Regions from separate parts of the Homo sapiens genome. Here all the other regions are linked to region 1. Evidence: promoter capture Hi-C in 16 types of primary human blood cells and fetal thymus (Javierre and others, 2016). All regions are on one chromosome and are shown on one strand. The core of a region is centred on a gene start or on the middle of the fragment in contact, and the rest is flanking DNA. Distances in the headings are between cores, read along the strand shown.

Region 1 (2,700 bases), core at 117-2,616:
GCCCAGAGCAACACGGCGCCAGATACCTTCTGTTAACTCCCCAGCCTGGATGTTGTCCACTTTGCCTGTCTTGCTATTCTTGAAGATGATGCCCTGACGGCTCAACCTCAGTCGACCATCATTCTGTAAGAAAAGCAGGCCCAGATGCATGGAGACAGTACACAGCATGTCCTGGGTTCTACAGCTCTACCTAACACACATTCCTGCTGCAAGTGGACTGGCCAGATTATCAATGCAGGAGCAACAGCTGAGGGTGCCAAGGAGTCTAGATTCTAAACCAGACTCTGGTATCTAGAACCCTTAACAGATTCTCAGTTTCCTCATTTGTAAAACAGGAATTGGGAACTGAACAGCATATACGGTCCCTATAACTCTGAGACTATCTCTCAGTATTGCCTTGAGTTGGTGGAGACACTAGGTACACATTATACTGAGTCTTCTTTTTCCAAAATAACGTTACCAAAGCAAGCTCTCATTAATGGACAAAAACTCTACCCTCCTTCCTTCTCTCTACTTGTATCACCTGTCCAAGCCATTCTCACCATGGAACCTTTCACCTCCTGATAGACGTCGTTGAACTCCAGTGTCTCTGCCATGTCGACCCCTGCCTGTGGTGGCCTGGGCAGAGCCCCAGGCTGCACAAGGGAAACCAAGTAAACTGGGAGCTGGGCCCCAACTCCTGAGTGGGTGTGCGGATGCTCAGCAGGTTGGGAATCTGAATTCAAGAGGAAGACAGATAAGCATGAAAGACAGCACCTCGCTGTGCTCACGGATGGAGCCAGGTAGCAACTCCCAGCTGCGCCTGGATGTCTCAGGATTTCCTCTGCCTGGAAACCTACAGACGGACGCTGCAGTGCCCGAGGGTCCAGGTCCAGGCCTGGGTGGAGAACCGGGCCCGGAATACCGCTGACACCCAACCCGACGCCCGCTCTGGCCGCTCCGGCGGGAGCCATGGCAACGAGCAGCGGAACCCCAGGGTCTGCCAGGAGCCCGCACATCGCACGCGACCCAATCCAGCTCAGAGTGCAGGGTTTCCCTCGCACCGCTCCCACCACCCCGCGGCCCCAGACCCACGGTTCACCCCCGCCCCACATAATGGATTCGCCCGCTCCCCGCGGTTGCGAACGCGGAATGGTCCATGTCGAGGGTCCCGTGGGGGAGCGGGGCCCCTGCCTTCCTGGGACCGGGGACGACCACCACCTACCTCCTCAGGCTGCGGCCTCGCGAGGGCCCCGGCGCGAGAGGTGGGCGCGCTGGGGGGACGCGGGGGGGGCGCGGGGAGGGGGATGGGGGGACACCGGGGAAGCTTTTCCCGCGTGCGCGGCCCCGCGTCCCGCCACCGGAAGCCGTACACAGGCCACAGAGAGGATGAGCTGGCTAGAGAGACGCGAGTCGGGCCCGCCTGCGAGACAGTCGCATAGAGCGTCAGCGACTCTGGAGGACCTGAGGGAAGGGTGGTTGCCGTGAAGCCTCTCTCACCCAGGGGGAATCCGGCCTAGAAAATGTGTGTAGGGCTCTTTAGAAACTACAGACACTTCTTCAGTCGAGACTAGATACTAAAGAGAAATTGTGTAGTTTTATTGTATCAGACTTAGTACAGGGGTGGGGTGGGGGTGTGTATTGGAATGATGCGTGCCCGTTTCTCTGCAAAATAGTTTCTATGTCATGGAAAGGAGTCGATGGGACAAGAAGAGAAGTATTTGAACAGTTGTGGGAGGAAACGACCTCTCCCACTGGCTGCGGAGAGTATGCGGGTGTTGGTGTCATCGTGGGTGCACTGCTTTCTGGCTGAACTGTCAAGTTCACTGTCTACACCCAAAATTTTCACATCCTTAACCGAAAATTATAGGTACCTCCAAGAGGCTGGCAAACGGCCTTATCCAGTTCAAGTCCTGGTGTCAGATTCACCTTGGAGCCAGAACTGATTTGAAACCACATCATCCTGTGGTTGCGGAAGCCAGGTCTCCCCCGTATAATCCCAGAGTGCATTTTGCAACATCAGAGACCAGACCTGGAAAAGATGTTTTAGTTTTTCTACCCCAACCTCCTTTTACTGATGGGAAAACTGAGACCCAAAGGGGAGTGAGTTGCCCAGGGTCTCAGTGCGTTGGCAACAAGGCTAGGTAGGACCCAGACCTCCTTAACACCACCAGTCCAGTTATCTTCTGTCATAATCACAGTGACTGTATGTTCAGAATGACTATTGATATGTGTCCTACATGAAGACATTAGTACAGAATATGTAAGCTCAAGATTTCCCTGACAATCAATACACCAGCTTGCTAAATCAATCCTGGGGTAAGAGACAACAGGAATGCACCCTTCTCCCCTGAACTCATAGCTTTAACCTCTGAGTAGTGGCTATTCCAGCATTATCTAGCAAAATAAATTCAACTGGGTTTAATAAATAGATATTGAGGGCCTATTACTACTTTAGCACACTTCTCAGATTTGAGGAAACTTGAACAAGGTGAAAACATCCCCGGCCAGGCACGGTGGCTCACACCTGTAATCCTAGCACTTGGGGAGGCCAAGGCAGGGAGATCACTTGAGGTCAGGAGTTTGAGACCAGACTGGCCAACGTGGTGAAGCCCCGTCTCTATTAAAAATACAAAAATTAGCCAGGCGTGGTGGCGGGTGCCTATAATCCCAGCTACTCAGGAGGCTGAGGCATGAGAATTGCTTGAACCCAGGAGGCAG
Region 2 (2,700 bases), core at 122-2,621, 350 kb after region 1:
GACTTTTAGAGGAAGGAGATGCTTTCCAGTACATTTCTGAAGGTTATGCTTGCAGAAGAAGTAGGCTCTTTCTGGAATAGGAGGGGAGAGAACCATCATCAGTGGACTAAAAGGTAGAAAGAAAATAAGTTGACAAAGGTTGTCACTGATGACATGTAGTTTTCCTCTCAAATGTGAGGTTATTTTGCAAGAGTGAGACAAGTAGTTTCGGGCTGGCAACTCTGCTGAGATGAAGTTTTTCTGAAATTCACTGTAGGCTTGGCGTGGTGGCTCACATCTTAATCCCAGCACTTTGGGAGGCCAAGGTGGGCAGATCACCTGAGGTCAGGACTTTAAGACCAGCCTGGTCAACATGGTAAAACCCTGTCTTTACTGAAAAATACAAAAATTAGCCCGACATGGTGGTGGGTGCCTGTGATCCCAGCTACTTGGGAGGCTGAGGCAGGAGAATCGCTTGAGTGGGGGAGGCAGAGTTTGCAGTGAGCCGAGATTGTGCCATTGCACTCCAGCCTGGGCAACAGCAAGACTCCGTCTCAAAAAGAAAGAAAAAAAGAACTTCATTGTGCTCCCAAAGCCTACATCATTGTGCTTTGTTTGTGACTTCCCTTCAAAGATTGGGTGAGGGAAAAGAACTTTGTGTCCCTAAAGCCAAGAAAGGCTATTTTAATGAGCCTTTAATGTTCATTCATCAAATATTTATTGATGTATTATGGAAGGCACTATGATGGTCATTTGGGGTTTTTAAGAAGGTCATTGCTGGCCGGGCGTGGTGGCTTACGCCTGTAATCCCAGCACTTTGGGAGGCCAGGGCGGATCACTTGAGGTCAGGAGTTCGAGACCAGCCTGGCCAACATGGCGAAACCCCGTCTCTACTAAAAATATAAAAATTAGCCAGGCATGGTAGTGCACGTGCCTGTAACCCCAGCTCCTTGGAAGGCTGAGACAGGAGAATTGCTTGAACCTGGGAGGTGGAGGTTGTGATGAGCCGAGATTGCCCCATTGCACTCTAGCCTGGGCGATAAGAGCAAAACTCCATCTGAAGAAAAGTAAATAAAAAATAAAAAGGTCATTCCTTTCAAATAGCTCAGACTAGAAAGGAAGATAGGAAGACACCTCTATAAACAAATACACCGTGGGCCGGGTGCCGTGACTCACGCCTGTAATCCCAACTCTTTGGGTGGCCCAGGTGAGTGGATCACCTGAGGTTGGGAGTTCGAGACAAGCCTGACCAACATGGAGAAACCCTGTCTCTACTAAAAATACAAAATTAGCCGGGCGTGGTGGCGCATGCCTGTAATCCCAGCTACTCGGGAGGCTGAGGCAGGAGAATCGCTTGAACCCGGGAGGTGGAGGTTACTGTGAGCTGAGATTGCGCCACTGCACTCCAGCGACAGTGTGAGACTACATCTCAAAACAAACAAACAAAAAACAAATACATTGTGTAAGAGTAATCAAAGAGATCACTTCTGGTAGATGATGATGTAGAAGGATCAGACATTTCAAAATAAGGAGCATTGCAACTGGGCATGCTGGTGCCCACCTGCGGTTCCAGCTACTTGGGAGGCTGAGGTTGGAGGATCAGTTGAGCCCAGGAGTTCAGGGCTGCAGTGAGCTGTGGTCGCAGCACAGCACTCCAGCCTGGGTGATAGAGCAAAACTCTCTTAAAAGAAAAATAGCATTTGAATTTTTTCCCTTTAAAAGAAAAAAATCTTTTTTTTTTTGAGACAGAGTCTCACTCTCTGTTGCCCAGGCTGGAGTGCAGTGGCTCCATCTCGGCTCACTGCAAACTCTGCCTTTCGGGTTCAAGCAATTATTCTACCTCAGCCTCCCGAGTCGCTGGAATTACAGGAGCGTGCCACCGTGCCTGGCTAATTTTTGTATTTTTAGTAGAGATGGGGTCTCACCATGTTGGCCAAGCTACTCTGGAACTCCTGACCTCAAATGATCCACCTGCCTCACCCTCCCAGAGTGCTGGGATTACAGGCATGAGCCACTGTGCCTGACCAAAAGAAAAAATCTTTTATTTAAAGATTTCAATAAGTAGTGCACATTCATTATGTACGAAGTACAAAAAAGGCAAAACATTACCTATAATTTCACAGACCAGAGCTAACTACTGTTATATTGTGGTATATATCCTTGCAATATTTTGAAGACTTAAAAAATATATGTGTATATTTATGTATACCATGTATCTGCAGTATATATTTGTGTGTGTGTGTGTTTTTTTTTTTTTTCCAGACAGTGTCTTACTCTGTCACCAAGGCTGGAGTGCAGTGGCATGATCTTGGCTTACTGCAACCTCTGCCTCCCAGATTCAAGCCATTCTCCTGCCTCAGCCTCCCAAGTAGCTGGGATTACAGGCGTGTGCCACCACCCCTGGTTAATTTTTATATTTTTTGTAGAGATGGGGTTTCGCCATTTTGGCCAGGCTGGTCTTGAACTCCTGGCCTCAAGTCATCTGCCCTCCTTGGCCTCCCAAAGTGCTGGGATTACAGGCATGAGCCACCGTACCCAGCTGTACAGTTCTTTACCTAGCATTTCTTGTGATGTAAATATGAAAAAATGCTATGTAAAGAAATCAGTAAAATTTGAAAACTTAATTTTTAATTCCACACTATCATCTATTTAATTTTTCCTTCCCACATTTTTTTTTTCTAGGTTAATAATAAAAATTGCTCTGGGTGCGGTGGCCCATGC
Region 3 (2,700 bases), core at 40-2,539, 280 kb after region 1:
ATGTACCTGCTACAGTCAGCTGGGGGTTAGCTGAAGGTTTGTTGAGGTTTGATTTCACTGAGCTTGCATAGGCTCTTTCACATGTTTTAGACTTTGGCTGGGATCAACCAGATGACCAATTCTGATCCAAGTGATCTCTGGTCTTCCAGGAAGCTAGTCTGGCTTATTCATACGAAGTTTGCAAAAGTCCAAGAAAGCAAGCAGAGGCATGCATGCAAGGCCTCTTGAATCCGAAGCTAGGAACTACTAGAACATCACTTCTGCCTCATTCTAGCAGCCAAAGCAAGTCACCAGACCAGTTTAGATTCAAGGTAAGGAAAGAATCTCTACCTGTTAAAGAAAAGACCTGCAAAGTCATTCTGCTAAGGGCATTAATATAACGAAATGTGAATAATTCTGGCCACTTTTCCAGTATACCATATGTGGTCTTACATAGTTGCAAACAACTATTAGCAACTTTCCCCAGCAACCTGCCACTCTGTTTTTCCCTAAAGAATCAAGGGCTTTTGTCGAGATCATAATAATATTAGAAACACTTTGTTACATGAAGTTTCAAGTCGTTTGCATATAAATTGAATCTTCTGTTGCTATCTCTGTGGCATATTTAACAATCTCTGGCTCTTCCAGCTGCCTGTGTTGTAGAATAAATTATTATAAATACAGAGCTGCCTGAGTATTTATAATAATAAATAAATAAATTATCTTCATTTCCATTTCCCTTGAGAAAGATGGACAGAGGGCTATGCACTCATAGACACACACACACACACACACACACACACACACCCTTACAACCCCCACCTTTCTGCCCTGCCTTGCAATTCTACTCTGGGGTAGACAAAGGCCTGTATGTCCACAGATCCATTTTCAGTGATCTGTTTCCTGTCCCCAACTGTAGACCCCTCCACACGTGGATTTGTCTGGGGAAGAACCTTAAGGTGAGATTAGGGTTCCATTGCAATGAGTCTTTGCTGCCACTTGGTGTCATTGTTGAAGGCTTGTCCTGCATAGCCCCATGGACACTTGCCTTTTCAGGGAGATGTTTTTGCTGTTCCAGATTCTTTTTTTTTTTTTTTTTTGAGACAGAATCTCTCTCTGTTGCCCAGACTGGAGTGCAATGGTGCGATCTTGGCTCACTGCAACCTCTGTTTCCCAGGTTGAAGGGATTCTCCTGCCTCAGCTTCCTGAGTAGCAGGAATTATAGGCACCCACCATGTGTCCAGCTAATTTTTGTATTTTTAGTAGAGATGGGGTTTTACCATGTTGGCCAGGCTGGTCTCAAACTCCTGACCTCAAGTGATCCACCCATCTTGGCCTCCCAAAGTGTTAGAATTACAGGTGTGAGTCACTGTGCCTGGCCGGTTCCAGATTCTTAAACAGCTGATGTGGGGACTTAAACTTTGATTCCAAAGTTTACACTTTACACTTGTTCAGCCACTGTTTCTCAAAGATCAATACCTTTAGTTCTCTCTGGATAGCAGAAGGCTTCCAACATGAGCCATAGGCTATGTCAGAATCAGCCTCATCCCTATGAACCCTTAGGACATTGTCTTGACTCATGGTTGATAACCACATTAGCCATGTATCTACCTAACATGCATTAACCATTTGCCATGCTGTCAGGCACTGTGTTAAGAATTTTACATGGATTATGTTATTTCATTTAAGAGAGATCATGACTTAAGAAAAGGATATGTTACTGAATATATTAGATAATTCAAAATTTAGATAATTTGATACTAAGTTTTCCAGAATAATAACTGTAAAAGGTAGGGAGAGAATCTTCAACCATTGTAGAATTTCTTGTCTTCAAACTATTGTTTATTTTCTAAATACAAAAATCTCTAATATTTCTCAGAGTAGGCACTCTTAAATTAACTGCTTGGCATATCAGGACAGCTATTTGGGCTTTTTCATAGTGTCTTATCATATCTAACTTTCATTACAAAGTTATTGATTTTGGAGGGTGTTTTTAGCACTAGTGCCATGACTTAATGAATGAACTCTGAGATGACATCATTGTAGAATACAGGAAATATTTTAAATGATAAAGCTGAATGTTAAAATAACAGCACCTTAGTCACAAATGTCACTGTCAGAATTTATGATGCACATAAACAATAGCTGATTCACACAATTATGAGCAGTGATGGCAGTTATTTACTTTCACCAGCTCAAGTGCCACTATCATGTACCAATAGTTATGAGTATAGTTTACAATCCACTCAGCCCACCAATTTTGAAATTATGCAACCCTTGATGATTTTTTTTAATTTAGGGAGATTTTCAATTTTTCAAGTTTGTATAATTCAAATTTATATAATATACAGTAGTACCACCTCATTATTATCCTCTTTTATAGATGAAAAATGAAACCTTACAGTGCAATTGATCTACTCATTCAAGATCTCAGAAGTCCAGAAGTGGTGGCTTATGCTTGTAATCTTAGCACTTTGGGATGCCAAGGTGGGTGGATCACTTGAGGTCAGGAGTTCGAGACCAGCCTGGCCAACATGATGAAACCACATCTCTACCAAAAATTAGTCGGGGGTGGTGGTGGGCATTTGTAATCCCAGCTACTCCGGAGGCTGAGGCAAGAGAATCACTTAAATCTGGGAGGCAGAGGTTGCAGTGAACTGAGATCATGCCACTACACTCCAGCCTGGGCGATGCAGTGAGACTCCGTCTCAAAAAAAAAGA
Region 4 (2,700 bases), core at 16-2,515, 330 kb after region 1:
GAGAACATGGGGCATTGCTATTGGGTTCACAGCTGTCTTGGGCTAATCAGGGCAAAGCGTAGCACTATGACCTATGCAGAGTTAGCTCGCCAGGGACAGTAGCTATTCTAGAGAACCTTTTGCTTTTAGCTTTGTATTCTAGGATTGGGTGAGGTGAGGGATGCGGGCGCCCATCCCACGTGTGACAGTGGGAAACTAATGGAATTCAGGGAGTTCACTTCCCGGCTCGCACTCCGGGGGCGGGAGGGTGCTGCCACCGCCTCAGGTCGCGCGCTCCTTAGGCTTCCCTCTCACGGTTAGCGCTACGGCTCCAAGGCTGGCGCCTGCTCTTCTTCATCTCCCTCCCCGGCCCTTGGCAGGAGCCTCGCCCTACATTGGCTCTTCAAGTCCGGGCGTCCCCTTCATGTGGGAGACACAGCCCAGACCATTCCATCGCCCTGGATTCTGCCCGGACCAGCGACCTCGCCGGACTGAAGATTTCTCCAGCAAGATTGTTTTAAATAAAGTTTTTGCCATCAAAAAAAAAAAAAAAAAAAAAAAAGGAGATGGGAAGGAGAAGAGGGAGGCCTAGTCGCCAAATGGTTGGCCAATCCGCCGCGAAGGGGCTGAAGCAGGAAGCGGCGATAGTCGTCGGTAATTGGCTGCGCTGGAAGCCTGTCTGGACTGTACCACCTCAGTAGGAGAGGGGTTGCTGAATTCGAGAAGGTAGCTGCTTGCTTTTGAGTACTTCTAGTACACACACATAATTCTTTTCTTATTTCCGGGGGTTTTTGCTTGGATTCAGTGGGAATACAACAGGACGCAGGAGAAGGGAAGACTCGCCTGGCCATTTCCTCATTCCTGACTCCTGTGCATTAGGCCAATCCTTGTCTCTTAGTTGTCCCCGCAACCCCACGGCCTTACGTGCGCGCTCTCGTCTTCTCGCGTGCGTACGTCGTTGTGTTGCTGCAGCCAATCAGGCCGCGAGGTCGCCGCGGTCGCCAGGGTTCGCGCGCACGCCCCAGATCGGAGTCGGGGTGGGGGCTATGGGTGAATGGGAGAGTGAGCGGGGTTGGGCGCGGCAGCGCGAGCCGCATGAATGAGACAAACGTGCGCCGCGCGAGACGTCGCGCGAGCCCGGACTAGGGAGCCAATGGGAACGCTGGAAGGGTTCGAGACCCGGCACTGAGGGCAACGGCCGCGCGCCGGCTCCGAGACGAGCGACGCCTGGCGGGAGCGCGCGGCAGCGGGGCGGGCGTGGAGCGTGCGGGGGCCGCGCGCTGCTTCTCTGAGGCAGGACGGCACTGCCGGGAGGCGGCGGTGACAACGACGGCGGTGGTGACGGGCACCGGGCTCGCGGGTGAGTGCGGAGGACACCGGTCCCTGCGGAACCGGAAGTGCCGTACCAGCGAGGTGGGAGGGGAGGGTGACCTCTAGGGAAGGGGGACCGAAGACGGGGAGGGTATTAAGGCCCTATTTCTCCTCCGGGCCGGGTCTTCCAACCGCGGCGGGACCCATGGGCCTTGGAAACGGACGACGAGTAGAGGCCGGGGATCCACGACCGCCAGGGCTCGGAACGGGTTAGAGACGGCCACTCAGCTCGAGACCGCGGTCCCCGGTGCCTGGCGCCCAGCCGCCGCCCCTTCCGCCCCCGGCCCTGCGCCCTCGGGCTCTGCGGTCCCCGCAGCCCGCTCTCTCAACCTCGGTGGGCCTGGCCGCCGTGGATTCCTTCTTTTCGGTTTCAGCGGTCGTCAGCCCTGCCCCAACGGGTGATTCTCCTTTCCCCAGTCCCGTGGTGGGGACCGGGTGCTGTTTCCCTTTTACCGCTCTGCGGTTCGAGTCCCTCGCTCCACTCTGCTGATACTTATTTTGGCTCAAGCTTCATCCTGTTACCTGTTCTCTCTCACCCGTCCGCTTCCTCCTCCTACCGCCACCAGCCGAGTGCTCCATGCGTTTAGTACTTTGTACTTTTTAAAGTGGAGCCCGAATGCGTTTGTCAATATTTTACCTATATTTGGGGCAGGCAGGTGGAAAGTGTTTTACCCACTTGGCCAAATGAAACACTGAAATAAGAAGTAAGAAAGTTGCTAAAAGTTAGGAAGGCAGTTGTAGGATCACATATACGTTATACGCTAGACTATTTTTTGCCTTGGATTCTTCACTTCCTGGTTAATGCCATCTTGACCAAGTTGATCTAACATTTGCATATCATCCTTCTATCTCAGTATACCTCTGTCCTGGATCAAATATCTTCAGAATGCTCATTATCACCCATTGTATAAACTTAATGTTTACAAAATTATATTGCCATGTATTTTGCTACCTCGGTATATAATGATAACACCCACATTAAACTTCTTGGCTCTTTCTCCCATACCTTGACATGTGAATTATTCCATGGTACCTCCATTACTGTGCATTTAGATTTACTCTATTGTACTGTTACACCGCTTATTTCAACAAAAAATAGTTGTGTTGTCCTTGGTACTGCTGGTATCCACCTATTTAAGGAAATACCTGTATTAAACCTTATTAAAGCCTTCAAACCACATATCCTGTATTGTTTGTTTTACATATACATATTTCCATTTCATAGTTTACTCTGTGCCTCAATATGGCATACATATTACTTTTTTTCTCATTTTTGAGACGGAGTCTGGCTCTGTCGCCCAGGCTGGAGTGCAGTGGCTGCTATCTTGGCTCACTGCAACTTCCACCTCC

The links. Contacts are between HindIII fragments. The CHiCAGO score rates a contact against its expected background, and 5 or more counts as called.
Region 2: a contact is called between a fragment that was not itself captured here and the fragment with the promoter of SSRP1 in region 1, in 12 of 17 cell types (activated CD4 T cells, erythroblasts, megakaryocytes and 9 more). The highest score is 7.4, in activated CD4 T cells.
Region 3: a contact is called between a fragment that was not itself captured here and the fragment with the promoter of SSRP1 in region 1, in 2 of 17 cell types (monocytes and fetal thymus). The highest score is 5.8, in monocytes.
Region 4: the fragment with the promoter of ZDHHC5 here is called in contact with the fragment with the promoter of SSRP1 in region 1 in 17 of 17 cell types (naive CD4 T cells, activated CD4 T cells, total CD8 T cells and 14 more); the score reaches 32.7 in naive CD4 T cells.

Annotation. Positions count from the first base shown.
Region 1 is chr11:57,334,526-57,337,225 of GRCh38, forward strand. SSRP1 (structure specific recognition protein 1) reads right to left here and starts at 1,367. Exons shown (of 17, transcript NM_003146.3): 1 at 1,205-1,367; 2 at 543-715; 3 at 1-123. The coding sequence starts at 596. It also overlaps a transcript of P2RX3 not described here. RefSeq lists enhancers at 536-605, 1,456-1,505 and a silencer at 1,106-1,285. The HindIII fragment of the contact is 4,158 bases long and covers 1,305-2,700 here.
Region 2 is chr11:57,684,611-57,687,310 of GRCh38, forward strand. All of the region lies in intron 3 of ZDHHC5 (zDHHC palmitoyltransferase 5), which reads left to right. Among named protein-coding and RNA genes, the nearest start is that of ZDHHC5, 18 kb to the left of the region's middle. The HindIII fragment of the contact is 5,752 bases long and covers 1-2,700 here.
Region 3 is chr11:57,618,532-57,621,231 of GRCh38, forward strand. No RefSeq gene overlaps it. Among named protein-coding and RNA genes, the nearest start is that of MIR130AHG, 18 kb to the right of the region's middle. The HindIII fragment of the contact is 3,483 bases long and covers 1-2,700 here.
Region 4 is chr11:57,666,849-57,669,548 of GRCh38, forward strand. ZDHHC5 (zDHHC palmitoyltransferase 5) reads left to right here and starts at 1,266. Exons shown (of 12, transcript NM_015457.3): 1 at 1,266-1,339. RefSeq lists enhancers at 318-897, 1,067-1,706, 1,707-2,344, 1,898-1,967 and silencers at 1,098-1,337, 1,588-1,787. The HindIII fragment of the contact is 3,116 bases long and covers 1-1,856 here.